3 separate regions of the Homo sapiens genome follow, and regions 1 and 3 are each linked to region 2. The links are contacts of gene promoters, found by promoter capture Hi-C in human tissues and cell types (Jung and others, 2019). All regions are on one chromosome and are shown on one strand. The core of a region is centred on a gene start or on the middle of the fragment in contact, and the rest is flanking DNA. Distances in the headings are between cores, read along the strand shown. Region 1 has its middle 120 kb from the start of PRR20A. Region 2 holds the start of PRR20A (proline rich 20A). Region 3 has its middle 81 kb from the start of PRR20E.

Region 1 (2,700 bases), core at 26-2,525, 120 kb before region 2:
TCTTTCGGGGAAAAAAAAAATCCTCAAGTGGTATGTCTTAGAACTAAGAACCTGAATAAAAGCTGATATGTGATCTGAAGAAATTTGAGTAGGCCTTCATGTGGGGAAAAAAAAAAAAGATTAGACTTTACTGAAAGTGTGTAATGAAGAATAGGTAAGCGGAAGTGAGTTTATTCAAGCATAAGAAAGAGAAAGCTTGGAGAGACTCATCATTAGTTTGGGGTTATATGAAAAAGGTCTCGTACGGTAGTATTGAATAGTTTTTCCTCTACATTCACTGAATATAGGACAAGGGGGAATAAGTTTAAATTGCAGAAAAGTAAGTACTTCCTGACTGTGGGTATCATAAGCCACAAGAATGTGTTATCAAGAGAGGTTACAGTATTTTCTTCTCTAAAGGTGTTTGAAAAAAATCTTTTATAAAAAATTATCCTCCAATAATTTTGGCACTATCTAGCTAAAAGCAGGGAAATAATCCTCTGTTAAATTATCACACCATTTAATTCCATTCCAAGAGTGAATTATGAAAATGAAAAATGATTTTAAAATGTACTTTTTCAAAGTAAAAAGGTGTACAAAATCTTGTGATCAATAAAGCTCACATATCTGAAAATTCTAATTATTCTAAAAATAATGTTATTTTTGATAGCATAATATAGAATAATTTTATTCTAAAAATTATAATTTCACTTGGTTTTCTTTGCCAAAATGAAGTAAAGCATTTAATAAAAGACAGAATATTCTTGCTGTACAACCTGCTGCTATAGAGGTCATATAGCAAAATGACATTAAAGAAATAGAAATAAATACATTTATAGCTATTTATATTATTATGACTTTTAATATTAAGATAGTCATTTCTAATGTTTTAGGGCATAATGTGGTGAGAGAGGACACATTTTCATATACAAAAATTCTAACACTGTTTATCTGACGTTTGTCAATTTTACTCCTTATTTGTTTATGTCATTTCTCCTTCTTTCTTTTTTTCTTTTTTTTTTTTTTTGAGATGGAGTCTCACTCTTTTGCCCAGACTGGAGTGCAGTGGCACAATCTCAGCTCACTTCAACCTCCATCTCCCAGGTTCAAGTGGTTCTCCTGCCTCAGCCTCCTGAGTCGCTGGGATTACAGGCACCTGCCACCACGCCCAGCTAATTTATGTATTTTTAGTAGAGATAGGGATTCTCCACGTTGGCCAGACTGGTCTTGAACTCCTGACCTCGGGTGATCCACTCGCCTTGGACTCTCAAAGTGCTGGGATTATGGGCGTGAGCCACCGCAACCAGCCCAGTTCTTCTTTACAGCACTATAATCTGGCCTTTGATACTTACCGTGTCTCACAGATACTGTGCAAACAGACTAATGAGGTAACATTTATATATCCATGTTGAAATTCAGTAAGAGATCATAAAGTACTATTTACCTTTAAGAAAGATGAACTCAGGTACCTAAACTAAACATTATTCCTTGATAAAACATTTTAAAACATAATGGTGTACTGATTTATATGAAAAATAAAATATCATTCCACCAGTTTATTTTAGATGACAATCGGAAATTATTTTGGCATATATGTTGCAATCATTAAATGAAGCCATTCCCATTGCATATCAGGAGAATGGAAAGTTGCTTCCTAGTTTGAAGAAGTGTTCCTAGTACACAAGATATAGAAGAGAAGAGTTGTGAGGAGAAAATGATTATATGCAGGAAATCTGAGCAATGTTTGTAAGACTTGTTTTGGATGACTAGAGATATGTGAATTCAAAAATCAAAGTAAAACAGGAATTGAAACAAACAAAAAGCACTTCAAGAAATTGGAAAAATCACATGCATTATTTTTACCTTCAGAAGAATTCAGAGCGTTAATCAAGGTAACAAAGAATAAAAATCACTTCTTCTATGTTCCTCTCCATTAGAGGCAGAAATAAAATTATTCTCTAATGTGCCCCCCCAACTCTCACTTTTTAAAAATACGTGTATATCCTTGATATTAAATATGCCACTGCTTGTAGCAAAATCAGTTTCTCTCCTGATTCATTCAGGTAAGGCTGCTAAGAAATTAACATGTATAGATCCGGTGTCTCAACTCAGTTTATGCTCAAGTCTTAATGTTTACATTTTGGACTCTTCCATGAGCAACTTCAGTCTCTGTACTAGTTTCATTTCTTAAATTTTATGTCTTGCCAAATGGGAAGCTGCAACAAGGTATGTGATGAAAGATTAACGGGTTGTAGGAGAGAAGGACAGCATTTTTATTTACTTAAACCACTAGCATGCCTGTAACCCACCCATATCAAGTATGCTGTACTTCTGTTCTAATATTTACACAATTTATTTCATTTGTTTATTACACATGTGTATCATCCCTAGTAGGCTCTAAGTTACCTAAGAGAAAGATCAGATCTCAAAGATTTTAGTATTCCCATGTCCAAAAATAGCAACATAGAAAACAATGAATGAAATATTTGTGGAATAGGGACAGAGCAAGATGATAGAATAGAAAGCTTCACCTGTCATCTCCCTCAGCAAGGACACCAAGTTAACAATGATCTAAATAGGAACACACCTTTATAAGAACCAAAAATCAGGTGAGCACTCATAGTGCCTGATTTTAACTTTATATCACTGAAAAAGGTATTGAACAGATAGAAAAAATGATTCAGAATCACCAACACCACCCCTCCTCCATCCCTGGCAGCT
Region 2 (2,700 bases), core at 7-2,506:
TAGACAGGATGGGATGGGAATGGCGCTTTCCCGCTGCAATCTTCCTGACAAAAACATATAATTCCAGTCAGATCACAAGGAATACATCACACGAACTTCAGGAGAGGACATCCCACAATATATCTGATCAGTATTCAAAGTGTCAGAGTCATCAAAAACAAGGCAAGTGTGAGAAACCGTCGCAGCCAAGGGGAACCGTGACGAGTTGTAAGGTGGTACCCTGGATGGGGTCTTGGGACAGAAAAGGTATGTGAGGTGAAAGCATAGCAAAACCTCACTTCAACAGGAAATACAACCCAAAAAAGTAATTGGCCCGGCATGGTGGCTTGCGCCTGGGGTCCCAGCGACTCGGGAGGTTGAGCGGGACGGACGGCTTGAGCTCAGGCCTTCCAAACAAGCCTGGGCACATAGCGAAAACTCGTCTCTCCAAAAAAATCCGAAAATTATCCCGATGTGGTGGCGCTCACCTGTAGTCCAGCTACTCCGGAGGCCGAGACAGGAGAATCACTTGAACTGATTCTCCTATCTCAGCCACCCCCCCCCAACCCCCCCAAGTAGCCGCAGCGAGCCGAGATGGCACCGCTGCACTCCAGCCTGGGCTACAGAGCGAGAACCAGTCTCTGTAAAAAACACAAGGATGCAAACCAACCAAATAACCCACTGTGGGATCCCCTCCAGCGTCCTGCTGTGTTTCCCGCTGTCTTCCTCCACCCGTGAGTGCACCCACAGCAATAAAAGCCAGCGGTGTGGGTCTCACACGCATCTCCAGCCCCGTCTCACACGCACCACCTCCGGGCCTGGACTTGGCCTCCCGTCCATTCCCAGAATGTGCCGGGCTCCCTTCCAGTCCGGGCCTCAGCACACTCTCTTCACTCCCCTTCCTCCCTCCCTGCCTCTCCCAACCCGGTTCAGGATGACTAATTTCAAACGTTATGTTCCAGATTTCAGCCCAGATATCCCCGCTTTGGATGCTTTCCTTGACCATGCTCAGATCTAAGCTAATCGCATCTTCCTGTCAGCCGCTTTCAGGGCACCACACCTCATTGTGCTGACACTCAGAGGTCATTATGCAATTTTTTTTCCTCGATGATTAGATTAATCAATCAACCACGGACGTCTAGAAATGGCGGCATCTCAGAAGGGCCCCCATTTGACTGGCAGGGGACTGGCCCAATGCGCCTCGCAAGCCCAGCCAGGCCCGCCCCAGCCGGCCCCCCTCTGACGACGCCTGTCCCTTACGCGACTGCCTTGCTGCCATATAAGAGGGACGGCGCTCGGCCTCCAGCAGTCGGCTTTCTGCTGGGCTCGGAGCCAGAACCTGCTGCGTGCTCCCTCCAGACTCCCTGGCTGCGGGTGGACTACCTCAGAGCTACAGCGGTGAACCTGTGGACACCTCCGACTCCTCGGGCCTCTCTTCGTCGAAGAGTCTCCTAATTTTCAGATCTCCGGAGCCAGCTGTGGGAAGATCAGGTGTGTGTCTGGGGGTCCCGGAGGCGTGGACGGATCTCGGGTGGGTGCAGTTGGGGACAGAATCCTCATTCCCCTAGAAAGGCCACGGCCATCCCCCTGCCTTGTCACCTCTGTCTTCCTAAATCCGTTCTTGCTCTCTTGTTTTTCTCCCCAGCCCCTCCCGCCGATTGCTCATGGAGGAACCAAGGCCTTCGAAGCGACTTCGCTCCATGGCCCCTAATCAAGGTACATCAAACGCCTGCCACTCCTCTCTTTTTAATTTCGTCTGTTCCCCAATTCTTCCCCAATGGTTGACACTCAAACTCAATCAAGCATTCTCTGTTTCACCTTCTCCTAGCCTGCCTCAACCTGGGCTGCTTGTTGGAAGTCAGCTCCCGGGTTCCACATCATCTGGGAAATTCCTTTCCCTCTTCCGAACCGTAATCCCATTTCCCAAATCTGAGATTTGCTGTTGTTGTCGCTGTTTCCTTCTGTTTAGTTTTGTATTACTGTTTCTCCGTAGCAGAGCGAGTCCTCACGCTACGTCTTGATCTATGATAAACCGGTACTTCCACCTTGTTCTTTCCCGGAGGAGTTGGAATTTTCCGGCTGTTGCCACGTTGTTCTCCAAAACTTTTCCCTTCATACGCTGAGTGTCCTAAATCTTTTAATCTTGTCTAGTTTGACAGATGCATAACAATAAAGCATCCACTGAAAGGAAATTCTTTAACATCTTGCTTGTCTGAAACATCTTCATTCTCCCCTCCCAGATTCTTCAGCGAAACTTCGGTTGGACAGGAAATTTTAGGTGGGAAATTCATTTCCCTTGAAATTTCGAAGACATTTTCTGTTATGTTCTAGACTGAACTGCTGCTTTTGAGATGTCTGACTTTTGAGACATGTGGAATCCTAGCCCTTTCCATGTGACTTTTCCTTTCTCTGTCTCCCGCTCTCTAGAATCTGTTAGAATCTTCTCTTTTTCCTCAGCACTCTGAAATTTTCTGGTGAAATGTCTCAGCCACAGCATACCTCTAATTCTCTTATATTTCATCCTTCTTTCCATCATTTTAGGTTTTTGCTTTGTTCTGTGGGAGACCTTCTCAACTTCATTCTCCAACTTCCGTGGAGAGTTTTGTTTCTTCTCTCACAATTTTAACTTCAGAAATCCCTCTTTTCTCTGAGTATTTATTTGTAAAAGTATCCTATAACTGCTTGACGGGTGAAGTTCCTTCTGTCTCTCTCTGCTCACGC
Region 3 (2,700 bases), core at 95-2,594, 110 kb after region 2:
ACAATGAATTCTTAATACAAAATCTATTTTTAGGAGTCAAGACTATTGAATGATTTGTCATATTGAGTTTCCGTCGTGATACATTCCAAACAAGCTCTTGCATATACAATTATTTTCCATCAGCTGCTTCTTAAGAGCATAAAGCCAATTGTGCATTTAAGCTAGAAAATGAACCTCAGGGCATACCCATCTGTCTAAACATATAAGCACATTTCCAACAGAGTTATAAGGACAGATTGTTCTTTAACTGAGGTGATGGATGTGAATGGTTAAGAAAATATGAATTATGAAGACTACACAGTTTTAATGCATTGTTCTCCATTTTTACAATTATATTTTGAAGAGATATTGTCAACTTTGGGTAATTATTACTATTATTATCAAAGCGACATTGGCATTAAGGTGTTTACAGATTAGAAAAGGTAACTACAATCACAAAAAGTGCATTAAAGAGACAACTAAACATTGCAGAAATAAAAATATATACATGGCTGACAAAGTCATATGCTTATCTCTTGTAAATTACAACAAACTTAAGGTGCATGAATTCTGTTTTATATAAAATGTATATGTCAAAACAGCATCATTGCTGTGTCTAATGCAATTAAATACAGTAATGAGTCATTCTTACAATGACATTTTTACCTCACTAGTAGCCCATGATACTCATAAAATGAGAAATAACATGGGCTACTATGAAAACCTATAAGGTAGTTATCTTATGATCTCACTCATATGTGGAATCTTAGAAAAGATGGTCTCATGGAAGTATAGAGTAGAATAGTAGTTACCAAGGGCTAGGAAGTGTAAGGGGGAGAAGGCAATAGGCAGAGGTTCTTCAGCAGATACAAAATTATAGTTACGTAGGAGGAATATGTTCTAGTGTTCCATGACATAGAAAGGTGACTATAGTTAATAATATCATGTATTTTAAAACAGCTAAATGAGACATTTTTAATGTTCTCACTACAAATAAATGATAAACGGATAAATATTTGAGGTGATGGAGATGCTAATTACCTTAATTTGATCATTGTACATTGTATATATATATATATCAAAACATCACACTGAGTCCCATAAATATGCACATTATGCATCATTTCAAATAAAATAATACTTTAAAAATACAATTTATATGTATAATAATGCAGAATAAAAGAAATTATCTCTACAACTAAATTAGTCAGTTAAAGGGTTATTCTAAATTGTGAGGAGCATCTTCATCACAGCCTCTTACTCAGAAAACAATAAGTTTCTGTGAGTAGAGTAAATGTGAACTAAGAGAGAAAAATGTTCAAAGTTTATGTTAAACAATCACTTGCCTTCTGCTTTGTGAGGAAATAAAAAGCTTTCTCTACTATGAATTTTCTTTTGAAATACAAAGGTCAGTATTTGAAATAAAAGAATAGGGAATTGTTAAAAACTGTACAGCTTTCAAGTGAGGGTAAAAATTGGAAGGGGTAGGTATGTTAATGACAGCAAGAATGAGTCCAGAAAAATGTGAGCATACAAAGTATTTTTTTTTCTTAATGTTTGGAAAATTGGTTCATGAAATTAGGAGTAATCATTTAGGTTCACGGAGTGGTACCCAAAGACTTGCAATGATTTCCAGTAAGAGCAAGCGATTTATATATACTTCTTAAAATTATCCTGTTTCTTTGCATATGCAATTTTGTGAACGCCAAATCCTCATTTTGACCTAAAAATTTCCTTCTGGAAACAAACAAACGAATATCTCCCTGTGTTTACAAAGTCACAGTCCTCTAGTTATGGATTGAAAACATAGGCTTTTAATTGTTTTATTATCTACTTTGTATTATTGTAATTTAGAATCTTTACTAGAATAGAATAAAGATTGCCTTGTTGGTTGGACTGATTTTTAATTTTATAGAAAATCAAATAACAGTTTGTACTCTCTTCAGTGAGCTTTTCCTATTTAATATTATACATGTGGGATTTATCCATATTGCAGAAAATTATTTTAAATATTAATTATATATTTTTATTTATATATTGTTATAGTTAGCAATACATGTTAAAGAAATATTAGGTATCATTAGCAGCATTTCTATCCTCCTCTCTCTCTTCTTTTCTTTCCACATTCTTCTCCTCCTCTTTCCCATTGCTTTCTCATTCATAGAGCAGGATGTTCCCTCTTTTCTTGGTTTACACTTGTTCGGGGGAATAATATTCCCCAGCTAATTCATAGAATTGGAGCCATGGGAATTATTTCTTGAAGCTGTTGTCCATCAGAAAATGAATTTATTCTGTAATCTCATGTGATTAAAATAGAAAGTCAGCAAGAACATGTACTGGGGGAAGGATACCCTTTTCAATAAATGGTGTTGGAAAAATTGATTGCCATATGCAGAAGAATGAAACTGAACCCCTATATCTCACCATATATAAATTCAACACAAGGTGGATTAAAGACTCAAATTCAAGACCCCAAACTATAAAAATACTAGAAGAAAACCTAGGGAAACTCTCCTGGACAATGGTCTAGGTAAATAATTCATGACTAAGACCTCAAAAGCAGCACAAGCAACAAAATCAAAAATAGATAAATGGGACCTAGTTAAACTAAAATGTTTCTGCACAGCAAAAATAATGATCAACAGAATGAACAGACAACTTGCAGAATGAGAGACAATATTTGCAAACTATACATCCAACAGGGAACTAATATCCAGAATT

What was found. The method cuts DNA at HindIII sites, captures the fragments that hold promoters and counts their contacts. A contact is called where the count stands out against the background at its distance.
Region 1: a contact is called between a fragment that was not itself captured here and the fragment with the promoter of PRR20A in region 2, in 4 of the 25 tissues and cell types used here (dorsolateral prefrontal cortex, mesendoderm cells, spleen and 1 more).
Region 3: a contact is called between a fragment that was not itself captured here and the fragment with the promoter of PRR20A in region 2, in 8 of the 25 tissues and cell types used here (bladder, dorsolateral prefrontal cortex, lymphoblastoid cells and 5 more).

Annotation. Positions count from the first base shown.
Region 1 is chr13:57,017,806-57,020,505 of GRCh38, forward strand. No RefSeq gene overlaps it. Among named protein-coding and RNA genes, the nearest start is that of PRR20A, 120 kb to the right of the region's middle. The HindIII fragment of the contact is 5,092 bases long and covers 1-2,700 here.
Region 2 is chr13:57,139,662-57,142,361 of GRCh38, forward strand. It overlaps PRR20A (proline rich 20A), which reads left to right and starts at 1,257. Exons shown (of 3, transcript NM_198441.2): 1 at 1,257-1,470; 2 at 1,625-1,695. The coding sequence starts at 1,644. The HindIII fragment of the contact is 47,953 bases long and covers 1-2,700 here.
Region 3 is chr13:57,246,660-57,249,359 of GRCh38, forward strand. No RefSeq gene overlaps it. Among named protein-coding and RNA genes, the nearest start is that of PRR20E, 81 kb to the left of the region's middle. The HindIII fragment of the contact is 6,474 bases long and covers 1-2,700 here.